6 separate regions of the Homo sapiens genome follow, and all the other regions are linked to region 1. Evidence: promoter capture Hi-C in 16 types of primary human blood cells and fetal thymus (Javierre and others, 2016). All regions are on one chromosome and are shown on one strand. Each heading gives the region's core, a stretch centred on a gene start or on the middle of the fragment in contact. The rest is flanking DNA. Distances are from core to core; before and after follow the strand shown.

Region 1 (4,216 bases), core at 616-3,115:
CAAGGAGAGAGCTGATTCTGCCTAGGGCATGCCTGCTTTAAGGACTCAGCCCCAAGCCTTCCCCTCCCCAAATGTTGCCTGCTAGCTCACTCCTAACCCCCTTGCCCCTTGACCTGGGGCAGAGAGCTGGCTGATACTAACCCCCGGGGACTGCCTTAGCCTGCCGGAGCCTCAGCTTCCTTGTTTGTCAAGTGATGATAATAATTTCTAATTCTCAAGGTTCCTTGATGATGAACTGCCACCCTATAGGTGGTGGCCCCATCTGGGAAGAAGGGTGGCTGGGTGTTTGGGGGCTACACCTGGGGAGGAGGCTGAGACGGACCCGGGGCTGCTGCTTTCAGGCCCTGGCTCGTTGCCCCTGCTGGGGCCCGCCTGTGGGTACCCATGTCCCTTGGCCTCATCCAGGTCCAGCAGCGGACCCTGCACAGGAAGCTGTTCAATCTCACGGAAACAGCTGCAGCTCCTGCCCAGGCCCTTGACTCCACCCCGTGGCCCTCCCGCCCCCCACTCAGCGTTTGGTTCTCATGGCAAGGAGGACTCCCGAGGAAACCAGACTCCACCCAGACCCCCCTACCAAATGCCCTCCTTTTTCCCATGCCCGGGAGCCTCTTCTGTCCTCCCCCGTTGGCCGCGGCATAGCAGCCCCACAGGGCACACCCTCAAACCCCATAACCAACTGTGCCTGGGTTGGGGCACATAGCAGATGGCCCAGCAGTGCCCCAGGATCCACTCCAGCCTCTGTCTCAGCCACACTGCCTCTGCCAGGAGACAGACACCTTCTCCAGCCCGCCTTTCCATGCTTGCGTGCCACATCGCACACACATTCACACACACAGATGTACACACTCCATAACACACACAGTGACAGTCCACACCAGTGTCACACCTGGATGCCAGATCGCCCATGTCTACATGTGTACATGTCTACATGTCTGTCAGGTGGCAGACTTTTGCACACACTAAGGAGCAGCTTCATATACCTCCTCCAAACATACGCATACACCTGCCTAAGGATGAACCTGTGAGCAGACATATGTACCCCTCCAGAAATCCCTTTCCCTGTTCAGTGACACAGCCGGGCATCTGAACACATGCACACCTGTGCATGCACACATACACACACGAGCACACAGCACGCTCATTCCTGTGTGCATGCACACACACACACACACACAAATGCATACCAGGAGTCCCTGCCTGCCTCAGCAGGGAGAACACAGCAGCAGCTTCCCAACCTGCAAACCCATCCTCAGCGGAGCCCTGACCTTCCTGACGGGGGGATCCCGGCTTCCCAGGGGTCAAGGAACCTGCTGAGGTCACACAGCTCACTGCGGTTGAGCTGGTATCAAGCCCAGGTTCCCTGTCCCCAGGGCTGGTGTGCACCCCAGCTGTGTCCACAGGTGTGCAGACTGTGGTGTCTCCAGACCCAGGGGTTCCCGCTGGGCCCTCCCCCAGGATGCTCTGATCCCCCTACAGGGCGGGCACCCGGGCACCTGAGCAGGGGCCCCCTCAGCCCTCGCAGGGCAGCAAAGCCTGGATGCTGGGCTGGGACTATTCTGAGTCGAGGGTGTCTCTTTGACAGGTTCCTCCTGGGCACGGGGCTGGCTCCTGGGAGGGGCAGTTCCGAGGACCCAGTGGCTGAGGGGCTCCCACCTGGGACCCCTTGCAGTTCCCAGGGACGAAGGTCTCCCCCTTGAGCGTCTAGTCACCTGGCCCAAAGGGCCCGCAGCTGTGGGCAGCGCTGGGGACAGGGGCGAGGGGTCCTTACCTCCAGGCCGAGAGGGGTGGAGGATGGACAGCAGGAGCAGGAGGACTCCGGGCCGCGGGGCCGCCGCCGTCAGACCCGCCATCTCGGGGAGAAATGCCCCAGCCCGCTCTCCGCACCTCGTTTTATCCCCAAAGCCTAATTGTTGCCTCGTCGGCTGTGAGGGAAAGAGGGAGGGAGAGAGGGCGGGCGGGAGGGCGGGAGAGGGGGGAGGCCTGGGGGAGGGGGCCGCGGGGAGGGGACAATTACGAAAGGCCCGGCTCACAAGCCTCCCAGGCCCGGGCTGCTGGACTGCGAGCTTTTTTCCTTGACACACACACGCACACACATGCACACAAGCACACACTCACACACACACACTTTCCCCCATCTCTTTCCCGCTTTCCCTCTGCGACTGTTCTTTCGCTGCTGGCCCTGTTCCCGCCAGAAAGAGCGAGGGGGGCCTCTGCCAGGACAGCCCTCGGGAGAGGAAGCAGAAGGGAGGGCCTGGCGGCCAGGCCAAAAATCCCAGCCCCAGCCAAGGCCCGAGTGGCCAGGCCCCCGCCCCTCCGGCTGGGCCCCGGGCCCAGTGTGAGGATACGGGCCAGCTGTCCCGCGCCTCAGCCCCCACCCCGGCCCTCCAGACTCCCCAACACCCCCAGGTCTGGCTAGAGACAGGTTCTGCCCAAAGCTGGGGAGGGGAGGCATTGGGCAGGTCTGGGGGTTTGGGGGGTGCGATGTCTACAGAGGCCGGGGGGCTGCAGGTTGAATGGCCTGGAAGGTAGGCCCGGGTTGGTATTGCTCTGGGAGGGATCTGGGGGGAAGGTAGGGGACCCTGGACAGGGCTGCATTCTGCAGGGGCCAAGGTCTCTGCCTAGCGCCTGAAGCTGGGGAGGAGGTGTTGGGTGGGTCTGGGGTGGATGCCTGCAGATGCCAGGGGGTTAGAGGCAGGGGAATGGCTTGGGAGTTAAGGCCATGTTGGTGCTGTCCCCAGGGGCATCTGGAGCACATGGAGGATCCCGACACACAGGGTTCTATTCTGCATGGGTCAAGGTCACAGCCCTATACCCAGCCCCATGCAGGCCGCAGGGTCTGGTAAAAATCAGGCTGGATCCCCAGGTGCCCTGTGGGGGAACAGGGAGGTGGGAGCCCCCCGCAGACTGACAGGCAGCCCAGCTTCCCATTATCACTGGGTCACCTCCCATCCCCACGCTGAGCACAGCTAGCGCCCACACCAGTCTGGGAGCTTCTCGACTGCTGTTCTCCCGGCCCCTCTGGGAAGGCTGACATTCCGCTGGTGGCCAGGAGGGGGCGGCCTGCACTGAAACAGCTGGGACCACGTTCCTGGAGAACTCTGCATTTCTGCCCCCAGGACTGAGCTGGACGGGGACCCTGGGGGATTTTGGGGGTTGGAGTGTGGGATGGAACAGGGGAGGGTCGTGTCCCCCACCCCTCACTTCCCACTACTGCTAGAGGAGAAGAAATGTGAGACCTAGAGAATAGGAGAGGGAAACTTGTTCCTTGTCCTAGGTCACAGCCAGTCAGGGAACAGCATGGAAGCCACACGCCCTGTGGGCTTTTCCCTGCACCACGATGGCTCCGAGGGATGAGTTAAAGACCCCTTGTGGAGGCAGGAGCACTGTGGCAGTCTGGAGTGCCAGCAGGGGTGGCTCAGCGTGGAAAGGTCAAATGCAGGCATTGGTCAAAGGCAGGTATTGGTGGACCTAGAAGTAAATTTCTGGCTCTAGCCTTTCTGGTAGGAAAACCTCTCCACAGAGCATCAGTTTCCTTATCTGTCTACAGGTGATCAGTATTCCTAGCTAAGAGATTATTGCAAAGACAAATACAACGTGGTCTTGTATTTCTGCTAGATCAAAAATGCTCTGTGTTCAGCTGGTGCTAGGACTGGTGTCAATACCACAGTTGCCGTCACTCGCTCTGCAAGTACTCTGCTTCTAGGACAGCTATCAGGCTTTGGTCTATACGGGGCCACCCCAGGACCCTGGACAAACCCTTCCTTTTCCCTGGGTCTTTGGAGGGAGCAGCTCTGGAATTTTGGAAGGTAGGGGCATGCTGGGAGAATTGTCTTGAAGATGTACGCACACAGCCAGTGTACAGCTCTTACTTACGGTGTGTGTTTATTTGGGGGTGCTTTGAGGGTAGCTGATGGAGATTATGCTGGGGTGAAAGCCCCCCCAAGCCACCCTTTGTTGGTGGGGTTAGGGGCTGCTCAGGGGCAGGGTCTGAAGCTCGATGCCCAGGATGTGCCTGCTGCAGGGGAGGGGAAGTCAATGGTATATCTGCGTGCCTCCGCCTGCCTGGGAAGGAGGAAGGCAGGGGCTACTGTGGGGAGCTGGACCCCTCTCTTCTCGAGGCAGTGACACGGGCAGGAACCAGCTTTCAGACTTGCAAACCGCAGTCTGCACAGAGTCTTTATTAATTCCAGGACGGGGAGAGAGTCCGGAGCCAGGG
Region 2 (3,762 bases), core at 1,104-3,603, 480 kb before region 1:
ACCAAGACCACCAGCATCTCAGGTCTCTGACCTACCCCACCAGGAAAACCCTGACTGTGAAGCCTGTGGCAGGCAGTTGTGTCTAATAAATGCTGGTTTTCATCTGAGTCAGGTAGTGCTGGCAGCTATAAAGTCTGGCTTCCAAACGCAGTTCTGTGCTGCGTGGCCTGGGACAGGTAACCTCTCTGGGCCATAATCTTGCCTATTGTGCCAGCCCCAGCCTGGAGTCGCTCTGGTTAGGAAGGTGCACGCGGCGTGGGGCCAGGAAGCCTGTCCTCCAGGGTCCCTACTGGAAAATTAAAACACAGGGCATTCATTTTCTTCTAAGATGAAAACAAAAGCTTGCTGTTCCCTTTCTGCGCGGGAACACTGTAGACTATTAACAAAAAATAAAACAAATAAATCCAGCTGTTTCTCATCCATCACAGCTGAAAGAGCTGCTTCATCCCACAGTCACCGCTCAGCTGAAGACGCCGAGACCATGGCAGAAAACTCACCCACCTAAAGGCACCCAGAGCTGGTGGGGAAGAGGATGAGATTGGGGGCGGGTGACGAAGGCACATCCCTTCAGCCCACCCTCCCTACAGGTCACCAAAAGACCCTAGCATTTGGAGGAGGCTGGACTTAAGTTACTGCTAAGCAAATATCATTGTCACCCATAGGGTCCCTCAGGAAACCCTTAAAAGGCCCAGGGACGGGGGAGCCTGTCTTGTTCGCACTGCTAGGATAACTATAGGGTCATGTGCTCCTCCAAGGAGGCTCTGAAACACTCACTAGACCACTGCTGCCAAGTAGAACTTTTTTTTTTTTTTTTTGAGACAAAGTCTTGCTCTGTCACCTAGGCTGGAGTGCAGTGGCACGACCTCGGCTCACTGTAACCTCTGCCTCCCAGGCTCAGGCGATTCTCCTGCCTCGGCCTCCCGAATAGCTAGGACCACAGGCATGCATCACCATGCCTGGCTAATTTTTGTATTTTCAGTAGAGATGGAGTTTCACCATGTTGGCCAGGCTGGTCTCAAACTCCTGGCCTCAAGTGATCTGCCCCACTCAGCCTCTCAGGGTGCTGGGATTATATGCGTGAGCCATTGCGCCTGGCCAACCCAGTGTAACTTTCTATGACTATGAAAACATTCTACCTCTGCACTGTCCAATCCATAGACACCAGCCACTTCTGACTACTGAGCACGTAAAATGAGGCTGGTGCAACTGAACAACTGAGTTGTTTATTTCGTTTTAACGAATTCGAATTTAAATGAATCAGGGGCAGTGGCTCACACCTGTAATCCCAGCACTTTGGGAGGCTGAGGCAGGTGGATCACCTGAGGTCAGGAGTTTGAGACCAGCCTGGCCAACATGGTGAAACCCCGTCTCTACTAAAAATACAAAAAAATTAGCCAGGTGTGGTGGCGCACACCTGTAATCCCAGCTACTCCAGAGGCTGAGGCAGGAGAATCACTTGAGCCCAGGAGGCGGAGGTTGCAGTGAGCCAAGATCGCGCCATTGCACTCCAGCCTGGGTGACAGAGCAAAACCCTATCTCCAAAAAAAAAAAAAAAAATTGCAAATAGCCACATGTCACTAGTGGCCATGGCATCGCCCATCACTGCCCACATCAGCCACACCTCCATCAATGCCAAGCTCACAGTACTTTGGGACACAGGGCTGAGCTCCTGGGGCCCCCTCCTCATGAAAGTCACTCTGCATAGGGGAGGGGTCATCATGGAGAGAGTGTGGCACCCAGCCCCTTTTCCAGGGGTGTCTCCCACCGCTGCCCCAAACACCACTTAAGCAGCCCTTGAGCCACCTACAGCAGGAACAGCTTGAAGGAGGTCCTTTATTTTTCGGGGAGACTTTGTACCCAGAAGTTCGCTCTAAAAACTGGTCTTGCTGGGCCAGGCGCAGTGGCTCACGCCTGTAATCCCAGCACTTTGAGAGGCTGAGGTGGGCGGATCACGAGGTCAAGAGATTGTGACCATCCTGGCCAACATGGTGAAACCCGGTCTCTACTAAAAGTACAAAAATTATCTGGCCACGTGTGGTGGTGGGGGCCTGTAGTCCCAGCTACTGGGGAGGCTGAGGCAGGAGAATTGCTTGAACCTGGGAGGCGGAGGTTGCAGTGAGTCGAGATCACACCACTGCACTCCAGCCTGGCGACAGAGCGAAACTCCGTCTCAAAAACAAAACAAAACAAAACAAAACAAAACTGGTCATGCTGTGTGACTTTGGGCAAGGTACTACCCTCTCTGTGCTTCATCATCCTAAAATGCAGGAGCGCAGCTAACTGATGTTAGACAGATTTTTAATTTTATTTTTATTTAAAAAAATTTTTTTAATTGAGAGAGTCTCCTCTGTTGCCCAGGCTGAAGTGCAGTGGCACGATCTCGGTTCGCTGCAACCTCTGCCTCCCAGGTTCAAGCAATTCTCCTGCCTCATCCTCCTGAGTAGGCAGGATTACAGGAATGTGCCACCATGCCAGTCTAATTTTTTTATTTTTATTTATTTTTTTTTGAGACGGAGTCCCCCTCTGTTGCCCAGGCGGGAGTGCAGTGGTGCTATCTCTTCTCACTGCAACCTCCACTTCCAGGGTTCAAGTGATTCTCCTGCCTCAGCCTCCCGAGTAGCTGGGATTACAGGCATGTGCCACCAGGCCCAGCTAATTTTTATATTTTTACTAGAGATGGGATTTTGCCATGTTGGCCAGGCTGGTCTCGAACTCCTGACCCCAAATGATCCACCCGCCTCGGCCCCTAAAAGTGCTGGGATTACTTGCGTGAGCCACCGTGCTGGGCCAGATTTTTTTTTTTAACACTTCCATCACAGAACTTCCCCCCAGGAAAAGGCTAGAGGAAAATGGTATTATGATGTCCTCATTTGGGATAAATTGTTATAGGTCTAGGTATGTAGGCAATAGCGCCAGGGGAGTGATGTATTATACAAAGCTCGGTTTCTCTCTTCCTGCCCGAGATGCAGTTAGAACTCTTGCTTTAACGTTGGGGATTACATCTTTCTAGTGAATGGCTCCCCACACATTATCCCCCAGGTCACCTGCTAGGAGATAGGCATGTGGTTCATCCCAGGGACAAAGTGGGAATGGCAAGAGGGGTGAAGGGACAAGGGGACGAGGGCGGAGAGCCAGTGTTTATTCCAGGGCTAGATTTTTTTTTTTTTTTTTTTAAGACGGAGTCTTGCCCTGTCACCCAGGCTGGAGTACAATGGCACGACCTCGGCTCACTGCAACCTCCACCTCCCAGGTTCAAGCAATTCTCCTGCCTCAGCCTCCCAAGTAGCTGGGATTACAGGCGCATGCCACCACGCCCAGCTAATTTTTTGTATCTTTAGTAGAGATGGGGTTTCACCATGTTGGCCAGGCTAGTCTCGAACCACTGACCTAGTGATCCACCGACCCCGGCCTCCCAAAGTGCTAGGATTACAGGCATGAGCCACTGTGCCCGGCCCCAGGGCTAGATTTTTATGTACTGGATCTCGCTGAAGTCTCACATCTCACACCCTTGATGCAGGCATCGTGGCCCTAGCTGCAGTCAGATAAACTGAGGTTCAGGTCAGTGAAAGCTCCTTCGAGTAGCTGAGGTAGGACTTGAGCTACAAGGCAGGTGGGGACGCTCACCCTGTCCCCTCCTCTTGGGTGGGTGGGGACACTCACCATGGAGTCTAAGGCAGACACGAGGCTGGTGATGATCTCGTCTTTGCGGGTGAACGCGGAGTTCCAGCGGTCGGGTCCGCAGCCGTTGGTGGGGACGTCACA
Region 3 (4,076 bases), core at 192-2,691, 330 kb before region 1:
AATTCCAGGCCAGCCTGACCAACAGGGTGAAACCCCATCTCTACTTAAAATACAAAAATTAGCCTGGTTTGGTAGCAGGTGCTGTAATCCCAACTACTTGAGAGGCTGAGGCAGGAGAATCGCTTGAACCTGGGAGGTGGAGGTTGCAGTGAGCTGAGATTGCACCACTGCCCTCCAGCCTGGGGAACAGAGTGAGACTCTGTCTCATAAAAAAAAAAAAAAAACCCTTGCAGTGGCTCACACCTGTAATCCCAGCACTTTGGGAGGCCAAGGCGGGTGGATCACGAGGTCAGGAGTTCGAGACCAGCCTGACCAACATGGTGAAACCCCGTCTCTACTAAAAGTACAAAAATTAGCTGGGCATGGTGGCACATGCCTGTAATCCCAGTTACTCAAGAGGCTGAGGCAGGAGAATCGCTTGAACCGAGGAGGTGGAGGTTGCAGTGAGCCGAGATTGCACCACTACACCCCAGCCTGGGTGACAGAATGAGATTCCGTCAAAAAAAAAAAAAGAAAGAAAGAAAAATAATAAATAAATAAATAATTAAAAAGCAGGATATACAAGCTTGTAACCAGATTCTGAAAGTAGGTGTATGTATCCTTATACATAGGCAGAAAAGACTGGAAGGAAATTCACCAGGTCACTGAGGCTTATCTCTGGAAAGCGGGGGACAGGTACTGCTTGTGTTATCTTCATATTTCTCTGCACCCACCCCCTCCAGGGTCTCCGCTCTGAGTGGGTGAGACTCTATGAGGCTGGCTGGAGAAGCTCTGCCCCCAGCCCCACCTGCCACTCACCTGCTCATGCTGTGCCTTGAGCAGGGCAATCTCCTTCTCCACCTCGCAGATGTGGCTTGTGGCCTTGGCCACCTCAGCCCGTTCCAGGTCTCGTTCAGCCAGCAGCTGCTCAATGTGCTGCTGCTTCTCCTTCAGTGCCTCCTGCAAGGCCGTGGTGCCCGAGATCTTGCGGGCGTAGCGTGAAGAGGTCTCCGTGAGCTGCAGGAAGGTGTGGATGCAGGCGGGTCTCAGGGATCTGAAGCACTGCAGGGCAGACTGGCTCTGTCCAGCCTAATCTACAGCAACATAGCAGGTGGGAGCCCAAGTGCCTTGACTCCCAGGGTCCTGCTCTTCCCCTGCCAGTACTCTGACATCCTGGCCCCTGCTGACTCACCCAGCGGGGAATCTTGATGTTTGAGATTCAGGAAACTCCCCATCTCAGGAGAGTCAGCTCCTGATAGCCAGAGCCTCTGACTCCCTCACTTTGGCCACTTTTTCCTGGGAAAGGAGGAACCTCCAATCCTAGATTGGGTTTGGACAGAATGCCCTCTGCCCATAGCCACCAAGCAGCCTCCTCTTTTCCCTTCATCCAGGGTTTGATGCCAACCTTTCTGAACTCCCTGCCCTGCATCTGTATAACCCTCCTTAACTTCCAGAGAAAGGCTTAGGGTTCCAATAAATCAGTTATATAAAAACAGCAATAAAGGTAAATGGCTCAATTTTCCCTATTAAAAGATATGCACTTTCTTCTTTGTTCAAAAATCCCAAACTGGAACTAGAGTAAGTCAGGGGCAGACCAGAACACCTGGATCTCTTACATCCTCACCCCTCCCAAACGCACACCAGAGAATCCCCTTCTGCAGCCCCACCCTCACCAGGCCACTGCGGCTGGGCCGACCCCCCACGGAGGAGGCCACAGAGCTGACGGAGCTGATGGAGGAACTGCTGGGACTGTGGGTCAGTGCTGACACACCCATGGCCATACGCTTGGTCTTCTTGGCCTTGGCTGGGCTGGTAGATGGGAAGCCGATACGGATCACTTTGTGGATGGGCGCGAAGAGACCAAACTTGGGTGGGCACTGGAAGTACCTGTGGAAGCAGGAGAGACCCAAGCTGCTGTCACGGCCCCAAAGCCTGGAGAGCCTCCCCTGCCTCCTCTGCCTCTTCAGAGCCTGGCAGAAAGAGAGAAAGACACCTCCTTGGGGCCCATGTGGAAAGACACTCCAAGGTGGAAATCTTCCAGGTGGAGAGATAGGACTCTCAAAAAAAGGATATAGGTGAGTAGGGTCTGAGAGTCTCTGCAGCTGTGAACAGCCAATGAGAATACTCTTGGAAGTAGGAAATAATTACTGGGACCCACTTTGTGCCAGTCTCTTTAAATGAATGCTCATTTCCATCCCCCAAAGTTATCTACATTCACAAATGAGAAAATTTAGGCTCAGAGAGGTTAAATAACTTGCCCACAGTCACACAGCTGGTTACGCAGCAAAGCTGAGACTGGTCCTCCAGTGTGCTGGGCTCCAACACCCGCTAAGCTTGGCTCCCACAGACTGTTCAGAGACCCCAGCCACAGCTGCAGCCCCACTTTCAGGCTACCCTCAGACCATCCCCAGAATGAAGGATTCCCATCAGCTCTCTGCCCACAGAATCCCTGCATAGAGAAGCAAAAGCTTGAAAGAGAAACCTTGGGGTGGGATGGGGACTGCTGTCCAACCCACCCCTGAATTCTGAAAGCAAAAGTGAGTCAAAAGAAACATTCATCTTGCAAACAGGAAGGCAAAGCATTGTTATGGAAACCCTGGATTCTCGTCTTCTGTCAAGACCTCTCTGGTCACGGATTCCACACTGGACCACGAGAACTGGGCCCATCCAGTTTTTTTCTTTCTTTCGAGACAGGGTCTGGCTCTGTTACCCAGGCTGGAGTGCAGCGGTGCGATCATAGCTCACTGCAGCCTCAACCTCCTGGGCTCATGCAATCCTCCCACCTCAGCCTCCCAGGTAGCTGAAACCACAGGTGTGTGCTACTACGCCCAGCTAATTTTTGTATCTTTTGTAGAGATGAGGTTTTGCTATATTGTCCAGACTAGTCTTTAACTGCTGGCTTCAAGTGATCCTCCAGCCTCAGCCTCCCAAAGTGCTGGGATTACAAACATGAGTCACCATGCCTGGCCCCCATCCAGCTTCTGATTCACTTGAAACCGCTGCCCCATTCTGCCTTTTCCCACCTCCAGGTCTTTGTTCATACTGTGCTCTCAGCCCCTGCCTAGCACAGCCTCTCTCAAGCCTCTTCCAAAAGGAAACCCTACCTTCTTTCGAGGCCTGGTCCAAGCCTAGCTCTTCCCCTGTGCCATGGTGACCACTCCTGCTCAAAGCAGTCACAGCCTCGTCTCAACCACAGACTCCAGTACAGGGACTGCACAGGGACTCAGGTGGCCTCACCTTAGTCCACATCCGTGACAGACATGGTCCACTTACCACATCACTCCCCCACCTACCATAAGCCCAGACACAGCCTTAGACCCTCCTAACCCAGCAACGCCAGCAGTCAATTCCTTTTCATCAGAGATGCTGTGAGACCTGGAACCCATCTGTGAGGCCTGCCTCTGGCCATATAGCGCTGGGCATTGTCTGATTATTTCATGTGTCATTCAGGGGACCCCAATGCCAGATGACAGGGACTGCTGCCTCACCTTTTATTTATTTATTTATTTATTTTTTATTATTTTTTTTGAGACAGTCTTGCTCTATTGCCCAGGCTGGAATGCAATGGCGTGATCTCAGCTCACTGCAACCTTCGCCTCCCGGGTTCCAGCAATTCTCATGTCTCAGCCTCCCAAGTAGCTGGGACTACAGGTGCATGCCACCATGCCTGGCTAATTTTTTTGAGACAGAGTCTCACTCTGTCACCCAGGCTGGAGTGCAGTGGTGCGATCTTGGCTCACTGCAACCGACGCCTCCCCAGTTCAAGTGATTCTCGTGCCTCAGCTACCTAAGTAGCTGGGATTACAGGCGTGTGTCACCATGCCCAGTTAATTTTTTGTATTTTTAGTAGAGACGGGGTTTCACCATGTTGGCCAGGCTGGTCTCGAACACCTGATCTCAAGTGATCCACCTGCCTCAGCCTCCCAAAAGGCTGGGATTACAGGCATGAGCCACTGCACGCAGCCTCCCTCTCCTTTTTGAGGGCTCCCACCCCACTTAGACATGAGTGACACAAAGAAGAGAACACGGGGACAGATTCTCTTGGCGCTTGCCTGTGACTGTGCGACCTTGAACAATGACCTCCTGGCCTCCATACT
Region 4 (3,887 bases), core at 678-3,177, 460 kb before region 1:
CTGGAAGCAGGCAATGGGGGGCTCAATCCCTTACTCCCTATGCCCTGCCTGGTGGCTGACATCCACTTTAGGCCAGGATGACCAAAGCCCTCAGCCAGAGGAGAGAGAGAGAGATGGCGCAGGCCCCTCAGATGTGCCTGAGCAGCTGCCTGCGGCTGGACCACCCACCCATGCCTCCTGTTACACGAGACACCCCTCTCTCCTAAGCCTCTGTTTCTCAGGTTGCTTGCAACAAACACATTCCTAACAGAAATAGACTCCACGGCGGTGTGGGCGGATCACTTGAGGTCAAGAGTTCGAGACCAGCCTGGCCAACATGGTGAAACCACATCTCTACTAAAAATACAAAAATTAGCTGGGCGTGGTGTTGGGCACCTATAATCCCAGCTACTCAGGAGGCTGAGGCAGGAGAACTGCTTGAACCTGGGAGGCGGAGGTTGCAGTGAGCCAAGATCATGCCACCGTACTCCAGCCTGGGTGACAGGGCAAGACTCCATCTCAAAAAAAAAAAGAAACAGATTCCATGGGAGGCATTTTCTTTTCTTTCTTCTTCTTTTTTTTTAAAGACAGGGTCTCACTCTGTCACCGAGGCTGGAGTGCAGAGGCACGATCATAGCTCACTGCAGCCCCACCTTCCTGGACTCAAGCAATTCTCCTGCCTCAGGCTCACGAGTACCTGGGACTACATGATTGCGCCACCATACCCGGCTAATTTTTTAAAAAATTTTTAGTAGAGACAGAGTCTTGCTATGTTGCCCAGGCTGGTCTCAAACTCCTGCCCTCAAGTGATCCACCTGCCTCGGCCTCTCAAAGTGCCGGGATTATAGGTGTGAGCCACTGCTCCCAGCTGCATCTATTTTTTTTTTTTCTTTGAGATGGAGTCTTGCTCTTTTACCCAGGCCAGACTGCAGTGGCACTATCTCGGCTCACTGCAAGCTCCGCCTCCTGGGTTCACACCATTCTCCTGCCTCAGCCTCCCGAGTAGCTGGGACTACAGGCGTCCGCCACCACGCCCAGCTAATTTTTTGTGTTTTTAGTAGAGACGGGGTTTCACCGTGTTAGCCAGGATGGTCTCGATCTCCTGACCTCGTGATCCGCCCGCCTCGGCCTCTCAAAGTGCTGGGATTACAGGCGTGAGCCACCGCACCCAGCCAGCTGCATCTATTTTTAAAGGCCTCAGTCTCCAAGACTCGTCTGATGAATTCCACTGTCCATCAATCCTGGCCATTGAGGAAAGTGTGTCCAAACATCCATTCCAGGTTTCTCCTGCAGCAGCCCCACTGCTGCCTCCCCTGGGGCATCTGTAGCTAGAGGATGCCTTGATGCACATCCCTCTGGCATGATCCCACTCACAAGCCTCTTTCCTGCACCCTAAGCCACCCAGCTCCGGGCCCTTGGTCAGAGGTGTCGGGAGGTGGCATGTCTCCCACCCACGCATCTGAGGCCAGAAGAAGTCTCAGTGGGATTCTGGAAGGAAGGACTCAAGCATTGGATAAGGGGTTGAAAGAGGCGATTTCTCAGATCCACTCCAGATTTGAGATCCCTCATTACAGCAATGTTGTTAATAAAACAGTAATAGTCTCAAAGACACATCTGTACAGCCATGTTCATAGGATCAGTATTCACAATAGCCAAAAGGCAGAAACCGTCCCAGCGTCCGATGATGAATGGATAAAAAACCACAGTCTATCCATACAATGGAATATTACTGAGCCTTAAAAAGGAAAGACAGGCTGGGTGCAGTGGCTCATGACTGTAATCCTAACATTTGGGAGGCTGAGGCGGGTGGATCACCTGACGTCAGGAGTTTGAGACCAGCCTGGCCAACATGGTGAAATCTCGTCTCTACTAAAAATACAAAAATTAGCTGGCTGTGGTGGCAGGTGCCTGTAATCACAGCTACTCGGGAGGCTGAGGCAGGAGAATTGCTTGAACCCGGAGGGTGGAGGTTGCAGTAAGCCAAGATCGCACCACTTCGCTCCAGCCTGGGTGGGTGAAAGAGTGAGACTCCAATTCAAAAAAAAAAAAAAAAAAAGAAGGATGGCCGGGTGTGGTGGCTCATGCCTGTAATCTCAGTACTTTGGGAGGCTGAGACAGGAGGATCACTTGAGCCTGGGAGGTAGAGGTTGCAGTGAGCTGAGGTCACACTACTGCACTCCAGCCTGGGTGACAGAGTGAGACCCTGTCTCAATTTAAAAATAAAAAAAGACCATCATGTTAGGCCCGGTGATGCATATACCATCTCTCCAAATCCTTGACTCCATGGCTTTGGTTCCTGAAGACCCAAGTCCAGGTTCATTGCCATTACGCTGACAGAGAATTTAGGGACACAGGCTTTCAGCCAACACAAGGGAACATTCCTAATGGGAAGAACTGTCCCAGAATGGAAGAACAAGCTGCTGTGTGGGCACTGAGTCTCCATCTCTGGGGGCTGCTCAGTGGAAGCTGCCCACTTATCAAGGCCTCTCAGAGGGTCTTTGCACCTGGGAGACTCTGGCTGTATCTACACGGCTCCTTCCTTCCACCAAGAAATCTGGCCTGGAGGTAATTCAGGCAGAGCAGAAGTGAGACACTGCATTTTTGCTCCACTTAGAAATGAGCCAAGTTGGTAAATAAGATTTTTTTTTTTTTAAAGAGACAGAGTCTTGCTCTGCCACCTAGGCTGGAATGCAATGGCGTGATTATGGCTCACTGCACCCTCAAACTCCTGGACTCAAGCCATCTGCCGGCCTCAGCCTCCCGAGTAGCTCCCTGCTAATTTTTTTAAAAATGTTTTGTAAAGATGGAGTCTCGCTCTGTCACCCAGGCTGGAATGCAGTGGCACGATCATGGCTCACTGCAGCCTCAAATTCCTGGACTCCAGCCATCCGCCTGCCTCAGCCTCCCAAGTAGCTGGGGTTACAGGTGCATGCTGCCATGCCTGATTTTTAAAAATTTTTTTTGTAGAGACAGTCTTGTTCTGCCACCCAGCCTGGAGTGCAGTGCTGCAATCATAGCTCATTGCAGCCTCAAATTCCTGGGCTCAAGCGATTCTTTCCCTCAGCCTCGCAAGTAGCTGGAACTGCAGACACATGCCACCATGCCCAGCTAATTAAAAAAAAAATTTTTTTTTTTTTAGAGATGGGGCCTTGCTATGTTGCCCAGGCTGGGCTCAAATTCTTGGGCTCAAGCAATCCTGCCTCAGTCTCCCAAAGTGCTGGGATTACAGGAATGAGCCACTGTGACCGGCCTAAATAAGATCTTAAGAGCAAACTTCAAACACTTTGGAAAACAACCTCTTAGCACTGAGAAGTATATGCTTAGCATCACAGCACTGAGCTAGATGGGCCCCTCATCTAACCACCTGCATGTCCATCTAGGGAAACCACGGCCCAGAGGCGTCAGACTGAACCCCAGATCTCTGCACACCCAACCCAGGCTCACAACATAATACAACTTGCTCTCCTGTGGGCTTAACAGCTACGCTGATTGCAAATTCTTTCCTATTCACCACAAAACATCCTTTAGGGAAATAAACTTTATTTCTTTGACGATGGGCAGTAATTCAGAGGTATCCGAATTTCAGCGCAAGACCTGATCTGTTTCCACGGTACATGTGTTTCCACTGACTCCTCCTGGGTGCCCCGTCTATTGGAAAAGGCATCAGACGTATGAGCAAACCACAAAGACACGCAACACCACGGTGGAATCTCGCAAGGATGATGAAAGAATCTGAGGTCACATGGTAGAATTCCATTTATGTAAGGTTCAAAAGGAGGCCACATTCTGAAGCCAGGAGATGGAACGGCGGTTATCGTGGTGGGTCAGGGAGAGTGGTAGTAACTGGAAGGGGGTGAGAGGGGCTTGTCAATGCTGTTTCTTGATCTGGGTGCTGGTTACCTGGGTAG
Region 5 (3,648 bases), core at 983-3,482, 390 kb before region 1:
TGTAGTCCCAGCTACTCAGGAGGCTGAGGCAGGAGAATCAGTTGATCTCAGGAGGCAGAGGTTGCAGTGAGCCGAGGGCCAAGGTCACGCCACTGCACTCCAGCCTGGCGACAGAGCAAGACTCTGTCCAAAAAATCCCCAAAAAGATACAGTGTCTCACTATGTTGCCCAGACTGATCTCCAGCTCCTGGGCTCAAGTGAGCCTCCTGCTTCAGCCTCCCAGAGTGCTAGGATTACAGGCATGAGCCACCGCACCTGGCCCATATTTATTTTCTGAACAAGAGATAAACTTTCAAGTAAAGAGGACTGAAATAAAAGAAAGAAAGAAGGAAGGAAAGAAAGAACAAACGAAAGAAAGAAAGAAAGAAAGAAAGAAAGAAAGAAAGAAAGAAAGAAAGAAAGAAAAACAGCTTTATTTATTTATTTATTATTTATTTATTTGAGACAGGGTCTCGCTCTGTCATCCAGGCTGGAGGGCAGTGGCATGATCATGGCTCACTGCAGCCTCGGCCTCCTGGACTCAGGTGATCCTCCCACGTCAGCCTCCCCAGTAGCTGGGATTACAGACATGTGCCGCCATGCCTGGGGTTTCACCATGTTGCCCAGGCTGGTCTCGAACTCCTAAGCTCAAGCAATCCTCCCGCCTCGACCTCCCAAAGTGCCAGATTACAGGTGTGAGCCACCATGTCCAGTACAGAAAAGTTGTTTTAAAGAAAACAATTCTGGGTGGATCACCTGAGGTTAGGAGTTGAGACCAGCCTAACCAACATGGTGAAACCCTGACTCTACTAAAAATACAAAATTAGCTGGGCGTGGTGGCGCATGCCTGTAATCCCAGCTACTTGGGAGGCTGAGGCAGGAGAATCGCTTGAACACGGGAAGCAGAGGTTGCAGTGAACAGAGATTGCGCCACTGCACTCCAGCTTGGGTGACAGAGCGGGACTCCACTTCAAAATAAAGAAGGAAAAAGAAAGAAAGAAAAAGAGATAAAGGAAGGGAGGAAAGAGAAAGAAAGAAAGAGAGAGAAAGAGAGAAAGAAAGAGAAAGAAGAAAGAGAAAGAAAGAAGGAAGGAAAGAAAAAGAAAGAAAAAAGAAAGAAAGAAAGGAAAGAAAGAAAAAGAAAGAAAGAAGGAAAGAAAGAAAGTGGGTGGGCAGAAAGGAAGGAGGCAGGGAGGGAGGAGGGAAGGAAGAAGAGAAGGAGGGAGGGAGGGAAGGAGGGAGGGAGGGAAGGAGGGAGGGAGGGAAGGAAGGAAGGAAATCAATTAATTAATAGAGTTACTAAAAAATATTGAATAAATAAATGAAGAAAACTATAGCCAAAAGCTTGAACATTTCGGATCAAGATGGTCAAATAAACTCAAATTACAAAAAAAAAAAAAAAAAAACAAAAATGAGGACAATTAGATGACTTGGAAAGGGTACAGAAAGAGGACAGTTTGTCAGGATGCGGGGGCAACCTGGCAGTGTCTGGAGCTCTGGGAGAGCAGTTGAGGTGGAGTGCAAGATTGAAGATGGAAGTTTGTGCAGTGGTGGAATTGATCAATCCGTCTGACAGCCACTCGTGGGCACCTGTGTGCCACGCCCTGGGCTGAGAGTCAGAGATGTGGGGGTGGCAGTGGTGGCTCATGCCTGTAATCCCAGCAATCTAGGAGGCTGAGACAGGCCAATCGTTTGAGCCCAAGAGTTCGAGACCAGCCTGGGCAACATGGCAAAACCCCATCTCTCTAAAAATACAAACAATTAGCTGGGCATGGTGGTGCACACCTGTAGTCCCAGCTACTTGGAAGGCTGAGGCAGGAGGACGGCTTGAGCCCAGAGATGAAGGCTGCAGTGAGCTGATTGCACCACTGCACTCCAGCCTGGGCAACAGAGTGAGACTCTGTCACACACACACAAGGAAAAAAACACACAAAAATTTCAGTTAGGAGGACTAAGTTCAAGAGATCCAAGTACAACATGGTGGCTATCCTTGATAACAATGTGTTCTAAACTTGCAAAGTACCAAGACAGTGGATTTTAAGCGTTCTCAGCACACTCCCCACAAAAAGACAAATGAGGTAATGCATATGCTAATTAGCTTGATGTAGCTGGTCCACACTTTATACATATTTCAAAACATCATATTGCACACCATAAATAGATACAATTTTTGTCAATTTAAAAAAAGAGGTTAGAGATATGTTGCGGTGCACACAGAGCACTCCCCTCTAGGGAGAGAGGTGTGAATCAAGTCCCCGATGGGCGCGTCTCTGCAGGCCGTGAAGAAAAAGTGTGTGTGTGTGCATGTGTGTATGTGTGCACAAGTGTGGATGTATATGCATGTATATGCGTGTGTGTATGTGTATGTGTATGTATATTGTTTGTGTGTATATATGTGCATGTTTGTGTATGTGAGTATACATCTCTTTGTGTGTAACGTGTGTATGTGCGTGTGTACCTGTGTACATGTGTATATGTGTACATGTATGTGTGTCTGTGTGTATGTGTATTTGTCCGTGTGTACATGTGTCTGTAGTGTTTGTGTGTCTGTGTATGTACGTGTTTGTGTATGTGTATGAGTTTTTGTGTATGTGTACGTATTTGTGTGTGTCTGTGTACGTGTCTATAGTGTTTGTGTATGTATGTGTTTGTGTATGTATATGTGTATGCATGTGTGTACGTGTGTACATGTATGTGTGTACGTGTGTGCATGTTTATATGTGTCTCTGTGTGCGTGTATATATATATGATGTGTACATGTATGTGTGTCTCTGTGTATGTGTGTATGTATCTGTGTGTGTGTGCCCATGCATGTGTGTGGGTCACTTGGAAAGGCCTGGGGGTGTGGGGTTGGAGGCAGGATCTGAGGCCTGAGCTGGGGGTGGGGGACAGGGCCCAGAGTGTGATGAATATGATGGACCCCAGGCTGCGGACCCGGTGCGGGGCTGTGAAGGTGCTCCTGGTGAACTCCAGGCTTGGGGCTGCTGGGAAACCGAGGCACAGCTGTGCGTGGGGCCAGCTGGAAATTGTGGCAGCGGGAGAGGGTGGCTGGGAGGGGGTCTAGACGGGGCTGGAGCCACCCTGGAGGCAGCAAGTCCTTCCCTTTGCTGGTAGCTCCAGAGAAAGGGCCCACAGCCTTACCCAAGGTTCCAGAGAAGCTTCTAGAAGTGAGCATCCTGGTTATTCGTCCTATACCATGTTCCTTCTGAATTTACACTGGACCCCAACTTCAGTCTCAAAACACTTCCCAGCCTCTCTTGGGGAGTGGGAGCGGGACCAGGGTGACTGCCCAGCTGAGGTTGGCAAGGGGGACGTGATGGGAGGGTTCAGGACTGAGAAAGTAGGCCAGGGTCAGCTCTGTGGAGGGAGCCCAGCCTGCGGGGAGGGGAGGCAGTGCTGTGCGGGAGGAGGGAGGCCAGGACAGTCCTGGCCCGGCACGGTCCCAGAGAGGGAATGAATGTCCACGCCCTGGCCGGCCTCTCTCCCAGGGATGGAAGTGTGGACACACACGGATACTCACAGAGAGGCCTGAACCAAGTCTGGGAGGCAACAGGGACAGGGAGCTCTGGGACTAGGAGCCGGGACACCTGGGTCCCCGTTGTTGCTCCCACGTGCAAAGCTGGCCTGTGTCTCCAGCCTTGCAGCCCTAAAGCCCAGTCTGGACAGAGG
Region 6 (3,620 bases), core at 669-3,168, 350 kb before region 1:
AATGCCTATCCCTCCGTAAACTGGCCTCCTCCCTTGCAGGAGTACATAGCTCACAGCACACAGGAGGTGACTCTTACCAAATGGCAGATGATGCAAACCAAAATGTGACCCAGCAGGAAGGCAGAGCCAGCCAGCCTCTTCCCAGAGCCCAGAGTCCCGCCCGGCCTGGTGGCCACTCACCCTCCACAGTTTCCTTCGTCCTGATCGTCTCCTCTGAAATGTCATTCGACTCAATCATCTGCAAAAAGAGCCCCTGTAAGGGGGATGCTCACCTCTGCCCCTTGGCCCCAGCCCCAGCCAGCCCAGCAAGCACACCTGCAGTTTGCACACCCTACTCCTACAAAGGGGGACCTCAGTGACGGACTCAGGGACTTGCTGCGGTGGCAGGGAGTGCAGACGTCCTCAGTCGGACCTCCCTGACAACAGAGGACCCCCATTCTGCACCCAGCTCTGCTGAAGGCCGCCTGTGCAGCTTATACATGAATACCTCCTACCCTTCCTTTGTTGAAAATGTTTATTATATTAAACAGATGGCTCCTTCCCTGCAATGCCTACAGAAATTTGTCCTGGGAATTTGTTTCTCTGTCTCCCAGAGACAAGACTTCTGGCCTCAGTTTCCCATCCATCAAACAAATATTGGCTGCTTTGGGTTAGTGTGTGCACAGCGTGCTTGGGGCCACCTCCTGGAGGGACTTCATTAAATGCTAGCTTCTTTCTCTCCAACATTTCTTTTTAATAATAAACCCAGAGGCCAAAGAAGAAAAGACCTATTAAAAAAAAAAATCAGCCTGGCACACATCACTATGACAAAAGTCAAAACACAACCAATAGGCTCCCTGCCACTCTTGGCAGGAGTTTCCAGTCTCCTGCCCAGGCTGGCTGTCCTCCGAGCCAGCCAGAGTCTGGCACTGCAGATCAGGGAAGCACAGAGCTGAGTAGGCAGTCACCTCTATCATCCTGCCCCTCATACTTCTGTTCATACATCCCAAGTCCCATTTGAGTCTCAATTAGTTGTAATGAACTAAGCCCCTTGGATCATAATTTATATACGATGCAGTAATGAGGCTCACACTAAATTTTTCTTTTTCTTTTTTTTTGAGAAGGAGTCTCGCCCTGATATCCAGGCTAGAGTGCAATGGCTCAATCTCAGCTCACTGCAACCTCCACCTCCCGGGTTCAAGCGATTCTCCTGCCTCGGCCTCCCGAGCGAGTAGCTGGGATTACAGGTGCCCACCACCACGCCCAGCTAATTTTGGGGTTTTTTTATTATTATTTTTTGAGATGGAGTCTCACTCCGTCGCCCAGGCTGGAGTGCAGTGGCGTGATCTCGGCTCACTGCAACCTCTGCCTCCAGGACTCTGAAGCGATTCTCCTGCCTCAGCCTCCCGAGTAGCTGGGACTACAGGCGCCCGCCACCATGCCCGGCTAATTTTTTGTATTTTTAGTAGAGACGGGTTTTCACCATGTTGGCCAGGCTGGTCTCAAACTCCTGACCTCAGGTGATCCACCTGCCTTGGCATCCCAAAGTGCTGGGATTACAGGTGTGAGCCACAGCACCTGGCCACTAAAATAATTTTTAAAATTCCCATATTTACTACCTGAGACCAAAAGTCCAGTTGTGCTTAGGCCTAAACCTCTGAACATGGGGACATATGCGTTTAGACTAAGCCCCAGTGTATACAGAAAATCAAGAGATGGGCTTTTTTTTTTTTTTCCAGACGGAGTCTCCCTCTGTTGCCCAGGCCGGAGTGCAGTGGCACGATCTTGGCTCACTGCAACCTCCACGTCCCGGGTTCAAGTAATCCTTGTGCCTCAGCCTCCTGAGTAGCTGGGATTACAGGTGTGAGCCACCGCGCCCGGCCAGGAGATGGGCTTTCTGGGGCCACTACTACTTCTTGGTCCAAGGGCACCTGTGAATGAGGGGCAGGGACTGGGGGAGGCATCCTCAGGCCTCTGTCCCCCATGCTCTGTGGAACCACAGCAACCTCAAACCTCCCCGCTCAGGGAATTCAGTTCCTGAGTTGCAGGCTGTTTCTGCCTGCCCTGAACAGCTAATCAGGCCATGTGCACGTAAGCTAATTTGGGTTTCTTCCTTTTCTTTCAGCCCAGGATCCTGGAAGAGCACTTGCTAAAAAACAAAATCCCTTCCTGGGAGAAGGGGCAGGAAGGCCATTACAAGGGACCTCAAGGCATGATGCAAAAAGATTTCCTTTTAGACAAAAAAAGCCCCCTGGATTCATTAGTCCTGAGAACTTACTGCCCACATGCTAAATTCTCGGGTTTTTTTGGTTTGTGTATTTTCTTGAGTCACAGCCTCACACTGTCACTCAGGCTGGAGTGCAGTGGTGCAATCATAGCTCACTGCAGCCTCAAACACCTGGGCTCAAGTGATCCTCTTGCCTCAGCCTCCAGCGTAGCTGGGGACTACAGGTACACTACCACTGTACTCGGCTAATTTTTTATTTTTGTAGAGATGGGGTCTAACTATGTTGTCCAGGCTGGTCTCAAACTCCTGGCCTGAAGCAATCCTCCTGCCTCAGCCTCTCGAAATGCTGGAATTATAGGTGTGAGCCACCACACCCACCCCTAAATTCTGGTTTGAATATACATGAGGGTGGTCAGGTGCAGTACCTACTCCCTGTAATCCCAGCACTTTGGGAGGCAAAGGCGGGCAGACAGCTTGAGCCCAGGAGTTTGAGACCAGCCTGGGCAACATGAGGAAACCCCATCTCTACAAAAACTATAAAAATTAGCCAGGTGTGGTGGGGCACACCTGTGGTCCTGGCGACTTGGAAGGCTGAAGTGGGAGGCTCGCTCAAGCCTGGGAGGTTGAGACTGTAGTGAGCCATGATCATGCCACTGCACTCCAGCCTGGGAGACAGAACAAGACCCTGTCTCAAAAACAAAACCAAAAAAAAGGCCAGGGATGGTGCCTCACGCCTGTAATCCCAGCACTTTGGGAGGCCGAGGCGGGCAGATCACCTGAAGTCAGGAGTTTGAGACCAGCCTGGACTACCTGGCGAAACCCCACCTCTACTAAAAATATAAGAATTAGCTGGGCGTGGTGGTGCATGCCTGTAATTGCAGCTACTTGGGAGGCTGATACAGGAGAATTGCTTGAACCTGGGAGGCGGAGGTTGCAGTGAGCCGAGATCCCACCACTGCACTCCAGCCTGGGCAACAAGAGCAAAACTCCATCTCAAAAAAAAAAAAAATGTATGTGGGGGAACTGGAAACTCAAGAATCTCTGAGTACAATTTGTATACAGGCAAGAGTCCGTTGCTAGCCATCCCTCCTATGAATTAATTCCTGTTGTCTTGGGCACTCTCTGTCAGCCCCACAGGGAATGGGGTTGAACATCTCTGCCACTGAGAGGCTGTGGACCTGGGAAAGTCTTGGTTTGCTCACCTGTGAAATGGAGCCAGTATCAATCTAAGGATGTTAAGGTGAAATGGAGTCACATAGGGCCTGGCATAAGACGTGGTACCCAGAGCCACTCAAAAGGCCCTTCCTGGCCCTGGTGGAGTGGGCACAGCCCACCTGGGTGTTGACCTCCTCAGAGGGGCTGGGAGGATGGGTTCAGCTGAAGGAAGAAGGGGTAGATGCTTAAGGAATTTCTA

The links. Contacts are between HindIII fragments. The CHiCAGO score rates a contact against its expected background, and 5 or more counts as called.
Region 2: a fragment that was not itself captured here is called in contact with the fragment with the promoter of ELN in region 1 in 2 of 17 cell types (neutrophils and naive B cells); the score reaches 5.8 in neutrophils.
Region 3: a fragment that was not itself captured here is called in contact with the fragment with the promoter of ELN in region 1 in 2 of 17 cell types (total B cells and neutrophils); the score reaches 6.7 in total B cells.
Region 4: a contact is called between a fragment that was not itself captured here and the fragment with the promoter of ELN in region 1, in 1 of 17 cell types (neutrophils). The highest score is 6.6, in neutrophils.
Region 5: a contact is called between a fragment that was not itself captured here and the fragment with the promoter of ELN in region 1, in 3 of 17 cell types (neutrophils, naive B cells and M0 macrophages). The highest score is 7.6, in neutrophils.
Region 6: a contact is called between a fragment that was not itself captured here and the fragment with the promoter of ELN in region 1, in 6 of 17 cell types (neutrophils, total B cells, naive CD8 T cells and 3 more). The highest score is 9.7, in neutrophils.

What each region holds. Positions count from the first base shown.
Region 1 is chr7:74,025,822-74,030,037 of GRCh38, reverse strand. It overlaps ELN (elastin), which reads right to left and starts at 1,865. Exons shown (of 33, transcript NM_000501.4): 1 at 1,769-1,865. The coding sequence starts at 1,850. RefSeq lists enhancers at 538-1,509, 2,482-3,454. The HindIII fragment of the contact is 20,716 bases long and covers 1-4,216 here.
Region 2 is chr7:74,508,102-74,511,863 of GRCh38, reverse strand. It overlaps GTF2IRD1 (GTF2I repeat domain containing 1), which reads right to left. Exons shown (of 27, transcript NM_005685.4): 2 at 3,661-3,762. Among named protein-coding and RNA genes, the nearest start is that of WBSCR23, 23 kb to the left of the region's middle. The HindIII fragment of the contact is 4,020 bases long and covers 344-3,762 here.
Region 3 is chr7:74,354,200-74,358,275 of GRCh38, reverse strand. It overlaps CLIP2 (CAP-Gly domain containing linker protein 2), which reads right to left. Exons shown (of 17, transcript NM_003388.5): 5 at 1,653-1,866; 6 at 799-996. Among named protein-coding and RNA genes, the nearest start is that of CLIP2, 67 kb to the right of the region's middle. The HindIII fragment of the contact is 1,747 bases long and covers 568-2,314 here.
Region 4 is chr7:74,482,602-74,486,488 of GRCh38, reverse strand. The region is part of intron 1 of GTF2IRD1 (GTF2I repeat domain containing 1); the gene reads right to left. Among named protein-coding and RNA genes, the nearest start is that of GTF2IRD1, 31 kb to the right of the region's middle. The HindIII fragment of the contact is 5,637 bases long and covers 1-3,887 here.
Region 5 is chr7:74,417,612-74,421,259 of GRCh38, reverse strand. No RefSeq gene overlaps it. Among named protein-coding and RNA genes, the nearest start is that of GTF2IRD1, 34 kb to the left of the region's middle. RefSeq lists a silencer at 3,635-3,648. The HindIII fragment of the contact is 1,814 bases long and covers 1,326-3,139 here.
Region 6 is chr7:74,377,424-74,381,043 of GRCh38, reverse strand. CLIP2 (CAP-Gly domain containing linker protein 2) reads right to left here. Exons shown (of 17, transcript NM_003388.5): 11 at 181-238. Among named protein-coding and RNA genes, the nearest start is that of GTF2IRD1, 75 kb to the left of the region's middle. RefSeq lists enhancers at 1-243, 244-744. The HindIII fragment of the contact is 8,624 bases long and covers 1-3,620 here.